Linked DNA regions of Homo sapiens: all the other regions are linked to region 2. Evidence: promoter capture Hi-C in 16 types of primary human blood cells and fetal thymus (Javierre and others, 2016). All regions are on one chromosome and are shown on one strand. The core of a region is centred on a gene start or on the middle of the fragment in contact, and the rest is flanking DNA. Distances in the headings are between cores, read along the strand shown.

Region 1 (4,541 bases), core at 588-3,087, 570 kb before region 2:
TCTTGGGGCTACACACAGTAAAAGTACGCCCCGTTTATGGAACCATGCTAGAGCTGCAAAAAGAGCCATCTTCTCAACACCCCTATTTTATAGATTTTTTTAAATGCGGGCTTCGAGAGGAGAAGAAAATTGTTTGAGGGCTCCTGGTGGTTAAGTTCTGAAAGTTAGACTCTTCATTTTTTGGAGGGTGGCATCACAGGTTGGGTGAAGGCCTGACCCCTACACCTGGAGAATGTAAGAAGTTACACATCACGCCTGTAATCCCAGCACTTTGGGAGGCCGAGGCGGGTGGATCATGAGGTCAGGAGATCGAGACCATCCTGGCTAACAAGGTGAAACCCCGTCTCTACTAAAAAAATACAAAAAATTAGCCGGGCGCGGTGGCGGGTGCCTGTAGTCCCAGCTACTCGGGAGGCTGAGGCAGGAGAATGGCGTGAACCCGGGAAGCGGAGCTTGCAGTGAGCCGAGATTGCGCCACTGCAGTCCGGCCTGGGCGACAGAGCGAGACTCCGTCTCAAAAAAAAAAAAAAAAAAAAAGAAGTTACACAGATATTCAGGCAAGAATTTGTTTCCTCTTTTCTTTAAGCAAATTAGGCCCAAGTACATATTTTCTGAAGTGATCCTCTTATTTGTCTTTTGATTTACCTCAGATTAGGACCTGATCTAAGGTAATATGTGAGAAGCCGGGGTGCCTGTTCTTAAGAACTCTATTTCATTTCATGGTGGCTAGAGAGCTTATTAAAATATTTATGTGTGTGAACTTTGGGGAGCCGTAGCCTTTATTTATTTTCTCCTTAAATGACGATGTAATTTACGTGAAAGAGAATTCTCTGCTTTCAAAAAAGGCAATTGAAGAGTATATATGACATGCATCTGTGTCTGCACATGCTTTTCCCTCTGTCTGGAATACATGTCCTTATCTTTGCTTAGAGAGCTTTCACTCTTCCTTCAGGGTGAGTCACCTCATACTTTACCCAACTGGATCACAAGTGTCCCCTTAGAAGTGGTTTTATAGCATACCTCTATCTTGATAATCATCACACTAAATTTTAATGGCTGGTTTTCTTGTTTATCTCTTTAATTAGACTGAATTTCTTTAGGGTGATGCCCTCAAGCCTAACACATGTTGAATGTGACTTTGGTGTAGCTTAAATCACTTGCTGGACTAACCATTGGGCCTGAAGGCAACTGAAACAAAGTGTATGTAATGACAATTTTGTCATGGACCTTGGATTGCCAATGGCTTCTGTTGCCTTAAAGGAAAAGCTTACAAAGTACTGTTGCTAACATTTCTTTCATCTTTTGAACTCTCCTGAATCAAGAATCTTGGGTAGGCCAATTCAGTATATAGGCTGGAGATCGGAGGAGATGATTTATGTAGAGCGTCATAAAATATGTGTTGGCCCTTTCTCCTTTTATCTCTTCCCTTATAACTCTGGCTTTTTCTAACTGACTTGGAGAGACATTTTAAGGGCTGCCTGCGTCAGACCCATTTATGATTTATGGCTCTGCCTTCTCAGACACCCTGGGAAGAATATTAAAATATCACCCAAGGCTACATCAGCAGCCTATTACTATATTAGAGAGAAGGATATATTAAGAAAAGCAAAGGTCTGCAACAGTCTCCAGGAATAGCTCTCTTAAGTAAACACGTCTAGCTTATACATTTTGACATCAGAGGCATCTTCTTGTAACAAAAGACTCACCAATTAGTTTTCCCATGGAAATCTGAAGAATTTAGTGATAGCTTTTGGAGGCCCCTGTTTAAAAGTCTGTAGCAAATTTGGCCCTAAGAAAAATTTCTCAAAATAGTTTGGTTTTCTAGACCAATGATTCTCAAATTTCTTTAAGTATAATAATCTGGTCTCTGCCATTGGTGATTCTGGTTCAAGAGGTGTAGGCTGGAATTTAGGAAATGACATCTTTAATAATAACCTCAAGTTTATTCTGATGCAAGTGGTCTGGGGTCCTGCTTTTGGTGAACACTTGCCCGGGACTTCTTGTGTGGGGTCTTTTAGCAGAAGCTAATGATTGGCAGCTCTAGATTAAGGTTCTGAGCAGGACATGATAGAGCATGAAGGATAAGGGTCACTGGCCCATTGTAGGTGGTCATGGAGTGAATTATTTGGTGGCCCTTTTGAAAAGGAACAATGGCCATCAGCACCCTGTGCTATCTCTGTCATGCCGATTTCCACTGTATTGTAGTTGCCTATTTGCTTGCACTTTTTTCCAATTAGACTGGAGAGCAGGGACCATGACTTTCCTCTCTATACTCATAGCACCTAGTACCATGCTCAGTGTTTGCAGAAGACTAAATATGTAAGTGAATGAATAGAAGAATGAAAGAAAGTGTTGTAATTATTTGCAAATGAAGACATATTTAAAGGCTTCCAGCCTAAAAGTTTGACCAAGCTTGTTAAATATAGCCAACAGAGGAAGATGGTAATGTATGTGAGATACATTTTTAAATGTTGCATTGTTCTTTCCTATTAAATATGCAGGAGTTGGAGAGGTGCAGTGACTCCCACATGTGGCTGCGCCTCAGAATCGTCTAGGTGCCTTATTGTCTTTTTAACTGAGTTTTAAAAAAAAGTGAACACATAATACATACGCTTGGCATAAAGTGAAAATTAAGTGTATTATTCCTCACTTCCATTGTGCCTCCCTGGAAACAACCGTTTCTATCAGTTTCTTGTGTAGCTCTCCAGATATATTTGGAAGCATATGTATCCATGCCCTTTCTTACCTTAATGAGCCTGTCTTGTAAACTCTATGTTGCATCTTGATTTTTTAACTTAACAATATATCTTAAAGATTATTCCATATTAACACATATAGATCTACCTCATTTACTACGATGGCTACATGGTATTCCATTATATGGCATCTATTACATATGTATGTATGTAGTAATCCATTGTTGTTACAAGCAGTGTTACAATGAAGATCAGTGAATGTATCTCTTTGAATACATGGGCAAGTATGTGTAGGATAAATTCCTAGAGGTGGTATTCCTAGGTCAAAGAGAACGTGCATTTCAAATTTTGCAAAATTGCTCCCCAAAGAGGCTGCATGGATTATATTCTACCAATAGTATGAATGAAAGGCCTATTTCCCCACATCTTTGTTGGGACAATTTTTTTAAAAATGAAGATTCTCAGACCTTCACAATTCTATGGCTTCCAAAACTTCTAGGACCACTCCAGGGACCTGCATGTTTTAAAAATGTCTCAGAAAGTGAGGTGTTATTAATATTTAAATTTCACACTATTTCACATTTCTGTGATTCTGACTTAGAAGGTCCGTGGACCTGCCTTTGAAAACCAGCAGGTTGGTGCATAGCACTCCGTATGCACCTACGCTAGACACTGGCTTCCAGGTCCTGAAGCCCTTCCCCACTAATAAACAAACAGCTAAGAAGTGGGGAAGTGGTCTGGGTTGAAAATAATGCTCTGGCACCTTTTGCTTGCACATCTCCTTTTTCTGCCTTGCTGTGTTTTCCATTTTGGTCTTAAGTCTCTTTTTTTCTCAGATGAATCACTCAAGGGTCAACCTCTTCCCACAGGTTCACAAGAATGTACTTTAAACATGTACTCTTTGAGGACACATTCTTTGACGAGTGCTATTTTGAAGACGTAACATCAACAGATACCTACTTCAAAAATTGTACCATTGAATCAACCATCTTTTACAACACAGGTAGGTAAGAACATTGACAGATTGAATAGAAAGTAACAGGAGACAACTTGTGTTGTCCAAGAATCAAAATGGTCAGGCATAAACTTTAGGAGTAGGAAAGTATTCGTAGATACAAATGCCAAGCCTTGGTGGGGAAATGGATTTTAGCCCCAGGCATGGCACAAATTAGGTGCACAGCCTTTGCTAAGGCATTTAATGTATCTGCGTCTCAGTTTTATCACAAATGAAATGGAAACAAAAGTTGTAGCCAAATGTCCTCATGTCAGTGAGGCTGATGCTATACACGAAGGGTCTTTGGTATGAACAAAGGATGACACAAATAACAACTGGCATTCCAGGAGGGCTGCATTTTATGCACGGAATGCATTCTTGAAGACCTTGCACAATTTGAAACTTGCAAAATGCAAGACTCATGTTCTCACAATAATAAATGGAAAGGGAAAATTACATCTGTTCACATTTTTTGCATAAAGTGAAATACAAAGACTATTTTAAAATCATACTATTTCAGATTTCTGTGATTTAAAAAGTCCCAAAATTCTACCACTACACCTCTTCTTGTTACTTTTACTACCCTCATCATAAATTAATAACATACCAAGTGAAGTCGGGGTATAAGGAAACCAACTGAGCTTCATTAGGGGGCTTTACCTACATTGTCTCAAGGGAGAAATGTACTATTTTTTTTTAATCCTTCTCTTATAGCTAAGGAAACTGAGTTAAGGAAATCAAGACTTAAGCAACTTGCTCAAGGCCGTGGTTAGCAAGTGGAAGGAGTTTGGATTCATTCCTCAGTTGTTTGGCTCTGAAGCCTGCAATCTTTCCACAGAACTACTTGCATT
Region 2 (4,668 bases), core at 1,325-3,824:
TTCTCAGTCTGTACATGAGGCATTGTGGCATAGAACAAAAAGGGCTGGCCGGGCGTGGTGGCTCATGCCTGTAATCCCAGCACTTTGGGAGGCTGAGGCAGGTGGATCACCTGAGATCAGAGTTCGAGACCAGCCTGACCAACATTAAGAAACCCCGTCTCTATTAAAAATACAAAATTAGCCGGGTGTGGTGGCACGTCTGTAATTCCAGCTACTCCAGAGGCTGAGGCAGGAGAATCACTGAAACCCGGGAGGTGGAGGTTGCCATGGGCCGAGATCGCACCATTGCACTCCAGCCTGGGCAACAAGAGCGAAACTCCATCTCAAACAAACAAACAAACAAAAAAGAACAAAAAGGGCTGGACATGGATGCAAGTTTTGTTCCTTTCCAGCTTTATAAAAGAGGAACAACATAAGTCCCAGCCTCCCCATCAGATGAACCACACTGCGTGATAAACGAGATAATATGTATGTAGTTATAAAGAACCTGGGCTATGATGGCAGACAACCTGGTTTTCAAAGACTTGCCCTGCCACTTACTAGACAAGTGACACTGGTCAGGTTAACCTTTCTAGGCCTCAGTTGTCTCATCTGTAAAACAAGGCTAATAATAGTATCTGGTTTAGAGGATTGCTGTGAGGATTACGTTGTAAATGCGGGTGAAGCACTGAGAATGGTGTCTGGCCATAATAAGCACACAGTAAACATTAGCTCTTGTTATTACAAAGAATGTAAATAAGAGTTGAAGACTATAAAGCACTCCGCACATTTCATTAGCAATGGGGTCACCATTCGTAGACAAGTCTCAGCTCAGCTTTGCAGCTTACCGTCACAGAGGCAGGGAACAGAGCTAGCTTGTCAAGGGTCTTCTCAGGAGGAAGTGGGGAGGTAGCCCATGAAGCAAAGTGATGGGGAGGGAAAGAGGGGGACATAAAGATCCTGCAGAGAAGTTGGCTCCGAGTGATAGGAGGGTGTGGGGAAGAAAGAAGGGGGCAGTAAGGATTCTCATTATAGGACTGGCCGGGAATGGTGTGACCACTGATTCAGGAAGTGGGGAAGACGGGAAGAGACTTCAAGTGTGGGGGGAGCCAATTCAGATAGGAGGTGGCCTAGACAAGGTGAGGGCATCTCAAAGCGACACCAAGCCTGGGTGAGATCACGTCTGGAGCCACAGAAGGATGAAGCAGTTTATATTTAAATGCCATGGCAAAACAACATCCCCACCATTACACCCTCCATTCTCATTCAAGTTCTTCGGGAGAAAGGAAAAATATGGTCGGGTTCATTGCTATTCAGTTTTGAAGTTGAGCCTGCATTTGGACACAGGCGCTTGGGAGAGTGGGTCATTTTCTTTGACACAATTATTAAGGAAACCGTTTTAAATGATTCCTTGAGTCCCCCAATGGCCCAGGTGGAAGGTGCTGTTTCCTGGTACCTGTCCAGCCCTCTGAGCTTTTCTCTCAGCTTCCAAACGCTGCAGTTGAGAACTAGCAGATCCTATTGGTAGTGCCCTGTGGCCCACACTCCTTGGTAACGGTGAGAGTGGGGAGTAATTAGGAGCGGCTGCCATGGGCCAGGCATTCAGGTCAAGGCCGAGGATGGTGGCCAGGGCCACAGAGCCAGGGGACGGGTGGGGACCCAGCAGGCCTGCGGCTGGCCGCTTGCTGAGCGCTCCAGCAGCGGGGCCCTGGGCGGATGAAGGGCCGGAGAAGGCCCTCTGCTGGGGCCGCGGCGATCTTGCAGCGCCTGGACACCGAGGCTGGGGCACTAACGGTCCGTGGGGCTCCCGACGTATTCCTCTAACTTCCCCTTTCTGTCCTTTCGGTCTGGGGCCTTTTCAACACCCCCTGTGGCCGGGGACAGCTGGGGCAGAAACCGGCAGGCGGCAGAAGCCTCAAGCAGCTCTGACCTCTGGCACCTCCCCAAGACCCAGAGCACAACATCTGTCCCCAGAAATCCCCGGGCGGAGAAGAGCGCGCGCCAAGCCCTTCCTGGGTACTCAGTATTCTCCCTTCCTGGGAACAGCCTGCCCTCTGAGGCCTGGGCACCCGGGTTCCCGAGCGCCGGGTCCCAGCCCCGCGGGGGCGCCTCCGCACCCCATCTCCGCGCCCGGCGCAGAGCCGCCAGTCTCCGCCGCGGGGCCCCGTGCCCCGCAGCGCCACCTAGGGGCCGGGCGCCGCCTCCCGCCCTCAGGGGCACCCCCCTTACTCCGCAAGGACTCCGGGTCTCCCCAGTTCTCCCGGCAGCCGGACCCTCCCAGCCTCGGCCGCCGGGCCGCCCTCCGCATCCCAAGCCCGCCTCCCGTGCCTCCCCGGGGGCGCACCGGCAGCGAGGAGCGGCTCGGCGAGGGCGCGCAGCGGCGGCCCAGGCCCAGGCCTTGGGGCTGGGGCTGAGGGGGTGAGAGCAGGCGCGGCCGGCGGGCAAGGGGAACCGGGCGATGGCAGCGGCGGGCGGCCGCGGGAGGCGAGGCAGCGGCGGCGGCGGGCGGCGCGACGAGCCCCTGTGATTGGCACAGCCGGAGCCGGAGGAGGAGGCCAGGGGAGGGCGGAGGCGGGGGAGGAGGAGGAGGAAGGGGCGATCGCGGCGGCGGCGGCGGCGGCGAGGAGCTGTGCCTTCCACCTCTCCAGCCCCGGCAGGACGGGGGCGGCCGCCGCGAACCCGGGGCGGGGACAGCACGCAGCCTCGAGGCGCGCACCCCCGCCCGGCAGCGGCCCCGACACCCGGGGCGAGCGGGAAAGCGGCAGCGGCGGCGGCGGCGGCGGCGGCGGGGGAAGGATGCAGGGGAAGAAGCCGGGCGGTTCGTCGGGCGGCGGCCGGAGCGGCGAGCTGCAGGGGGACGAGGCGCAGAGGAACAAGAAAAAGAAAAAGAAGGTGTCCTGCTTTTCCAACATCAAGATCTTCCTGGTGTCCGAGTGCGCCCTGATGCTGGCGCAGGGCACGGTGGGCGCCTACCTGGTGAGTCCCCGAGCCAACTCCGCCGCGGGCCCCTTCCCCAGCCCGGCTCTCGAGCGGCCGCCTGGCCCGACGAGGGGGCCGCCCGGCGCTGGGGGCAGGCGGGCATGACCTCGGCCCGGCGTGGAGGTTGGCGAGTGGTGCAGAGGCGGCCGCCGGGGGAGCTGCCGGCCGGGGCTGCCAGCGAGCGGGTAGCGGGCGGGACCGTTGATGCCGGTAGCAGCTCGCGCGCGTCCGGCTGGGGCAGGGGGTGCCGGGGGAGGAGAGGCGGCGGGCAGGTGGGCGTGAAACTATTCCTCTCCCCCCATAAGAGCGGAGCGAGACGGTGAGTTCAGGGTTCTCCTTGGAGAGGAACGAAAAAGCGTCGGGGTTTTCAGGTGACCTGCACATGGGAAGAAAAACCAGTTAGCATCCTGCGTCCTCTACTCTCCATTGCATCCTCCTCGAGAACAAATCTATTATGCATCATTTTCTCCGGGCGCTTTCTACATCCGCCAATTACAGGGGGATATAACAGCTTAGAGTGAAATGCGCCCTAGTGTGGCCCTGGCCTGAGCCGGGGCTGCAGGGGGAATATTGCCACCCGGTATCCCTATAGCCCTCTTTGAGCGTCTGGGATAAAGTTACGGTACCTAGAGAGCAGCTGCGAGTTTGTGTAGTTCCTGCTATCCACTCTTAGTGCTAAATTCCCCATCGTGGTCTGTCGCCTACAGAAGGTTGCACCATTTTCCACAATGAATATGTATTTTATTTGCCTCCAGAAAGGGGATGTTAATGCTCAGAGGGCCCATGGGTGCGTAACATTTCAGAGGAAACAGCTTGTAATGACTCAGCACTGTCAGGTACCTACTTTGTCGCTTTCGCCTCCTCTGCTCAGGTGGTCGCAACTTGAGTTCCAGAGAGCGTGCTTCCACACCTAAGTACAGTCCTGTCTAAACGGGAAATTTTTTTTGAGAGTTTATAGTGTTAAATCATTACTTGGCTATTGACCCGCAACTGGAATCAAATGTCATAGACTTTGAGTATTCCTGAGCAAGTTTGATGGAGATAGAATTGGACAAGATTTTGGCCATTGAATAACCACATCCAGAGATAGAACCACGCGTATCCTGATGCTATGATTAATCCCTCATTCCTGGCCTTGGGGTAAAGTTCATGAGGGCCAGACGCTGGGGGCTGTATACCATTCATAAACTATCTCTTAAGGCTCAGGGCTCACTGTTAAAGGGAAATACAAGCAGTGCTTGGTCTCCGGTGTTGAGGAAGTTAGGTGGTTGTGAGAGAGGGGGTCTTCAAACTCAGCTCTGTTCCTGGGGTGACAGAATTTCAGGGCTTTTGAAAATCAAATACATTTCTGTTGCTCATTCTGAGACGAAAAGCGTTTACATCCCGGTCTCTGTCTTGTGCATTCGTAACTTGTAGACTGCAAGTGAACCCTGTAGTCAAAAGCATACCTTGTTTTCTGTTCTATAAAATACACTTATTGTGTCTATAGTTATAATATGCAGTTGCAGACAGTACCTATTAGCCCTTGGAATTTGAGGGATAGGGGATAATTGTGTTTTGGGAGTCAGTTTATCGGCACTTCCTTAGGGGAAATTTAACTGTTAAAATATTTAAATAAGTACATGTATTACAGAGATGCAAATTCACATTAATAAAATATATGTGGGTCTGTACTGTGACATATGCAAAGTACATAATACCTAACCGGGT
Region 3 (4,572 bases), core at 73-2,572, 520 kb before region 2:
TTAATTTCATTGTTCTTTTGTATTGTTTTCTTTTGTTTCTTCCAATTTCATTTGTTTTGCTCTGATTTTCAATATTTTGCTTTTTACTAAGTTTGCTCTTACTTTTCTAGTCCCTTAAGATGCATTATTAGGTTTTTTATTTAAAGTTTTTCTACTTTTTTGATGTAGGCACTTATTGCTATAAACTTTTCTCTTCATACTGCTTTCACCATATCCCATAAATTTTGGTATGTTGTGTTTCCATTATCATTTGTTTCAAGAAGGTGTCAATTTTATTTCTAATTTATTCATCGATCCACTGTTCATTCAAGTGCACACTGTTTAATTTCCATGTGTTAGTATAGTTTCCAAAATTCTCTGGTTATTGATTTCTAATTTTATTTTCTTGTGGTCAGAGAAGATATTTGATAGAATTTCAGTTTTTTTTTTTTTAAATTTGGATTTCATTGAGCTTTTCAAAACAGCTATTTTGAATTATCTGTCTGAAAGGTCACATATCTCTGTATTTTTGGGACTCTTTGTTTGATGAAGTCATATTCTCCTGGATTGTCTTGGTGCTTATGGATGCTTGTGGGTGTCTGGGCATTGAAGAGGTGGGTATTTATCATAGTCTTTGCAGTCTGGGCTTGTTTGTACTCATCCTTTTCAGGAAGACTTTCTAGGTATTTGAAGGGACTTAAGTGTTGTGGTCTAAGTCTTTGGTTACCACAGCTGTATTTATTTTAGGGGGCACACTAAGCTACCCAGTAATACTGTGGCTTTTGCAGACTCATAGAGGTACTGCCTTGGTGGTCTCGGATAAGACCCAGGAGAATTCCCTGGATTACCAGACAGAATCTCTTGTTCTTTCCCCTTACTTTCTTTGAAACAAATGGACTCTCCTTGTTTGTGATGAGCTGCCAGAAGCTGCAGGAGGAGTGACACATGCACCCCTATGGCCACCACCACTGTGCTGGGTCAGACCCAAAGCCAGCACAACACTGGGTTACACCCAAGGCCTGCAGTCACCACTGCCTGGCTACTGCCTATGCACACTCAAGGCCCAAGGGTTCTACAATCATCATGTGGCAAATCCAGCCAGGCTTGTGTCCTTCCCTTCATGGCCACAAGTTTACCTCAGTCCCAGTTGGGTCCAGAGATACCATCTGAGAGCCAGGTCCTGGAGTCGAGAACCTTAGGAATCTACCTGGTGCTTTTTCCTATTGTGGCTCAGCTTGGCACCAAAGCCACAAGATTCTTTTTCACTCTTCCCTCCTCTTTCCTCAAGCAGAGGAGTCTCTCTCCATGGCCACCACTGTCCAGGCCCATGGCAAGTACTGCCTGGGTACCACGGATGTTGACTCAAGGCCAAGGGAAGGGCACTTCAGTCAGCTTGAGGTAAATGTTGCCAGTGCTGAATCTCTCCCTTCAGGGCAGTGGGCTCCCCTCTGGCCAAGGGAAGGTCCAGAAATGCCATCCAGGAACCAAGGCCTGGAACTGGGGACCCCAGGAGTCCACTTGGTGCTCTATCCCACTGTGGTCAAGCTGGTGCCCAAGCTGTAAGACAAAGTCCCCTTTACCCTTTTCACTCCTTTCCTCTAGCAGAAGGGGTCTCTCTCCATAACCACCACAACTAGGAACGTTCTGGGTCATATCTGAGGCCAGCACCGCTCTGAGTCTCACCCAAGGCCCAGAACAAGTACTACTTGGGTATCACTGCTGATTATCCAGGGCCCAAGGGCTCTTTAGTCAGCAGGTGATGAATCCTGCTCAGACTGGTTTCTTCCCTTCAAGGCAGCAGGTTCCATTCTGGTCCAGGGTTTGTCTAAAAATGTTGTCTGGGAGCTAGGGCCTGGAATATGGGCCCCAGAACTCTGCCTGGTACCCTATCCTACTGTGGCTGACCTGGTATCCAAGTTGTAAGACAAATTCCTCTTTATTCTCCCCTGTGGTCTCCTCAAGCAAGAGTCTTTCCTGGAGCTGTGAGCTGTGCTGCCTAGGATTGGGGGAAGGGTGACACGAGCACCCCTCCAGCTTCCCCACCTGGTGTCTCACTAGGTCGGGTACCCTCCAAGTTCACTGGCTGTGAGCCCAGCACAGCATCAGGACTTGCTCAGGAATTACAGACCTTGTGACCTAGACTGCTATTCAAATTTATTTAGGACCCCAGAGCACTTTAACCTGTGATGGAGGGGTTGCCAGAACTCAGGTTTCAACTGCTGGGATGGATGATTTGCCTCTGGCTGCGGCTGGTCTAAATGCTCCCTCTGTGGGTGCTGGCTGAGTTCGGCCTGGAGTTCTGCTGTAACTGCACAGCACTGAGTTCCAAGTTCCAATACAAAGTCTCATAGCCACTGTGCTTTCCCTCTCCAAAGTACACAGATTCTCTGTCCACGCCATGTGGTCACTGCTGGGGGATAGGGGAGGGGTGTGTAGGTGATTGTTTTTCCTACCCTTTTCATAAGATGTTAATATGATTTCTTTAATATCAAGCTGATATTATGTTAAAACCAGGTATTGTTTTCCTAAATATGATATTAAAACCAGGTACAGGGATTACTCACCTGATTTTTGGTTCTTATGAAGATTTGTTTGTGTGTGGATAATTGTTCAGTTTGGTGTTCTTTCAGCGGGGACAGTTGCTGGAGGCTTCTATTCTGCCATCTTGCTCCACTTCCTCTGTCTGATTTTTTTAAGGCACTTCCTTCCTTTCTGGCACTGCAAAATACTCCAAGCTCATCTTGCATATTTCCTGTCTCAATCCTAGAATCAGCCATTACCTCAAGGAGTGCTGGTTTCTTTTTTTTTCTTTTTTCTTTTTGGAGATTGGTATTGGAAATCAAGATTTTGGATCTAGGTATGCTTATTGTTTCTTTTAGGCCTGTTTAGCTGACAGAGCAAAGAAATATGTGTATATGTTAACTGGTATACACATATCTATACATATCAATACTATGTAACCACAGGTATCTATATTAAGCTTCACATGAATTCTTATTAATGTTCCCAACTTTAATTCATCACCACATCAATCATTCTAGCCTCCACCCTTGCCTATTTGTAAGTTCCCGCTCCAAGAATGAGGAGCCTGGCTCCTACCATCTGCCATCTGTTTACTTAATTGTTCAATTTCTGTTTATATGTATAGCAGTACCAGAATTGTTAACTTAGACAATAGATTTTTCTTTTAGGTTTTTTTTTTTTCTTGACTGTGTTGGTAGTAACCATAGAAATGACAACATGCATACCTAACATAAAAAAATCAAAATTTAATACATTTTTTTACTCCATGATACACCTTAGAATATTTCAATATCAGTTATCCCTTGCCCATATTACTGTTATATGGTGTTATAACTCTTCATGTATGCATGTTTGTGTGTATGCATGTGTGTGTGTGTGTTTCACTAGGCATTAAGTTTATATTTACAGATATGTGTATAACTTTCCTTGCTCTCCATTCCCTTTTAAGTCTCAGCTGTCTATCTCGGATCATTTCCTTTTGCTTGAATGGTATCTTTTAGAATTTCCTTCAGTGAGGGTCTTTTGGTCATGAATTTCAATTTTAGCTTGTTTGAAGAGTTTTTATTACATTGTCATTTTTGAAAAATAATTTTACCAGGTATGGAATCTTACGTTTGTACTAATCGAAAATAGCTTTCTACTGTGTTCTGGCTTTCATTGTTGTTGTTGAGGTCAGTTATCTATTCACTGCTGTACTTTGAGGGAACTCTATCTTTATTTCTTTCTATAAATTTCTTGGTTTTGGTTATTTTTTGGTCACATATTTGATATGCATATAGATGTGGATTTATTATTATTTATCCTACTTGAATTTTCAGAGCCTGCTTATATGTATTGGTTTCATGTATCAGTTCTGAAAAAAATCTCAGATGCTATTTATTCCATTTTTTCTTTCTTCTCCTTCTGGGAATCTAATCACTTTAGGCTTTATATCTCTCTTATCTGTCTTTGTATTATATCTGGAAAATGTCATCTTCTCTTTTAATCTGTCTTCAGTTATGTTAAATCTGCTGTCCAATGTAACCACTGAGCTCTTAAATACTTTTATTATATATTTTATATCCAAATTTTCTGTTTGTTTTTTTCAAATCTACCATATTACTCTTTATTGTTTCCTACTACCATTGAATATTTTCAAGCTTGCCTTTTATCTCTGTAGACAAAATAATTACGGTTGTTTTATAATTAATGTGTAATTTAGCTGTCTATTTCTTCTGCTTGTTTTCTTTCATGTTGTCTTTCTTCTTTATGCGCTTGACAACTTGCTTGTCATTGCCCTTGAAAATTATTTGTTCAGATTCCCTGAGGTCAAGGATGATTGTGCCTTCTGGCTTCCCTCCAGAGTGCCTCAGAAGCTTGAGGCTTCCTGGCCTACTCCAGCCTACGCATGCCTGTGATGTAGGGGTACAGGAGATGGGTTTTGGTGTGGTTTGCCCCTATTTTTAGGGGTCATGTTTAATGAGAAAGGACTCCTGTAATTATCCCCTCTTTGGGCAGGTTTTGGGCCCGACCTTCTGCACTCTTGTTCTGTGAAGCCTTGGGCCCAGAGTACAAACAGTTGGTATTGGC

Evidence for each region. Contacts are between HindIII fragments. The CHiCAGO score rates a contact against its expected background, and 5 or more counts as called.
Region 1: a contact is called between a fragment that was not itself captured here and the fragment with the promoter of SLCO3A1 in region 2, in 1 of 17 cell types (M1 macrophages). The highest score is 5.4, in M1 macrophages.
Region 3: a fragment that was not itself captured here is called in contact with the fragment with the promoter of SLCO3A1 in region 2 in 1 of 17 cell types (activated CD4 T cells); the score reaches 5.8 in activated CD4 T cells.

Annotation. Positions count from the first base shown.
Region 1 is chr15:91,278,163-91,282,703 of GRCh38, forward strand. It overlaps SV2B (synaptic vesicle glycoprotein 2B), which reads left to right. Exons shown (of 13, transcript NM_001323032.3): 10 at 3,566-3,699. Among named protein-coding and RNA genes, the nearest start is that of SV2B, 180 kb to the left of the region's middle. The HindIII fragment of the contact is 1,146 bases long and covers 1,265-2,410 here.
Region 2 is chr15:91,851,134-91,855,801 of GRCh38, forward strand. SLCO3A1 (solute carrier organic anion transporter family member 3A1) reads left to right here and starts at 2,575. Exons shown (of 10, transcript NM_013272.4): 1 at 2,575-2,955. The coding sequence starts at 2,776. RefSeq lists silencers at 1,997-2,171, 2,040-2,179. The HindIII fragment of the contact is 9,711 bases long and covers 1-4,668 here.
Region 3 is chr15:91,327,439-91,332,010 of GRCh38, forward strand. No RefSeq gene overlaps it. Among named protein-coding and RNA genes, the nearest start is that of CRAT37, 130 kb to the right of the region's middle. The HindIII fragment of the contact is 3,270 bases long and covers 1-2,957 here.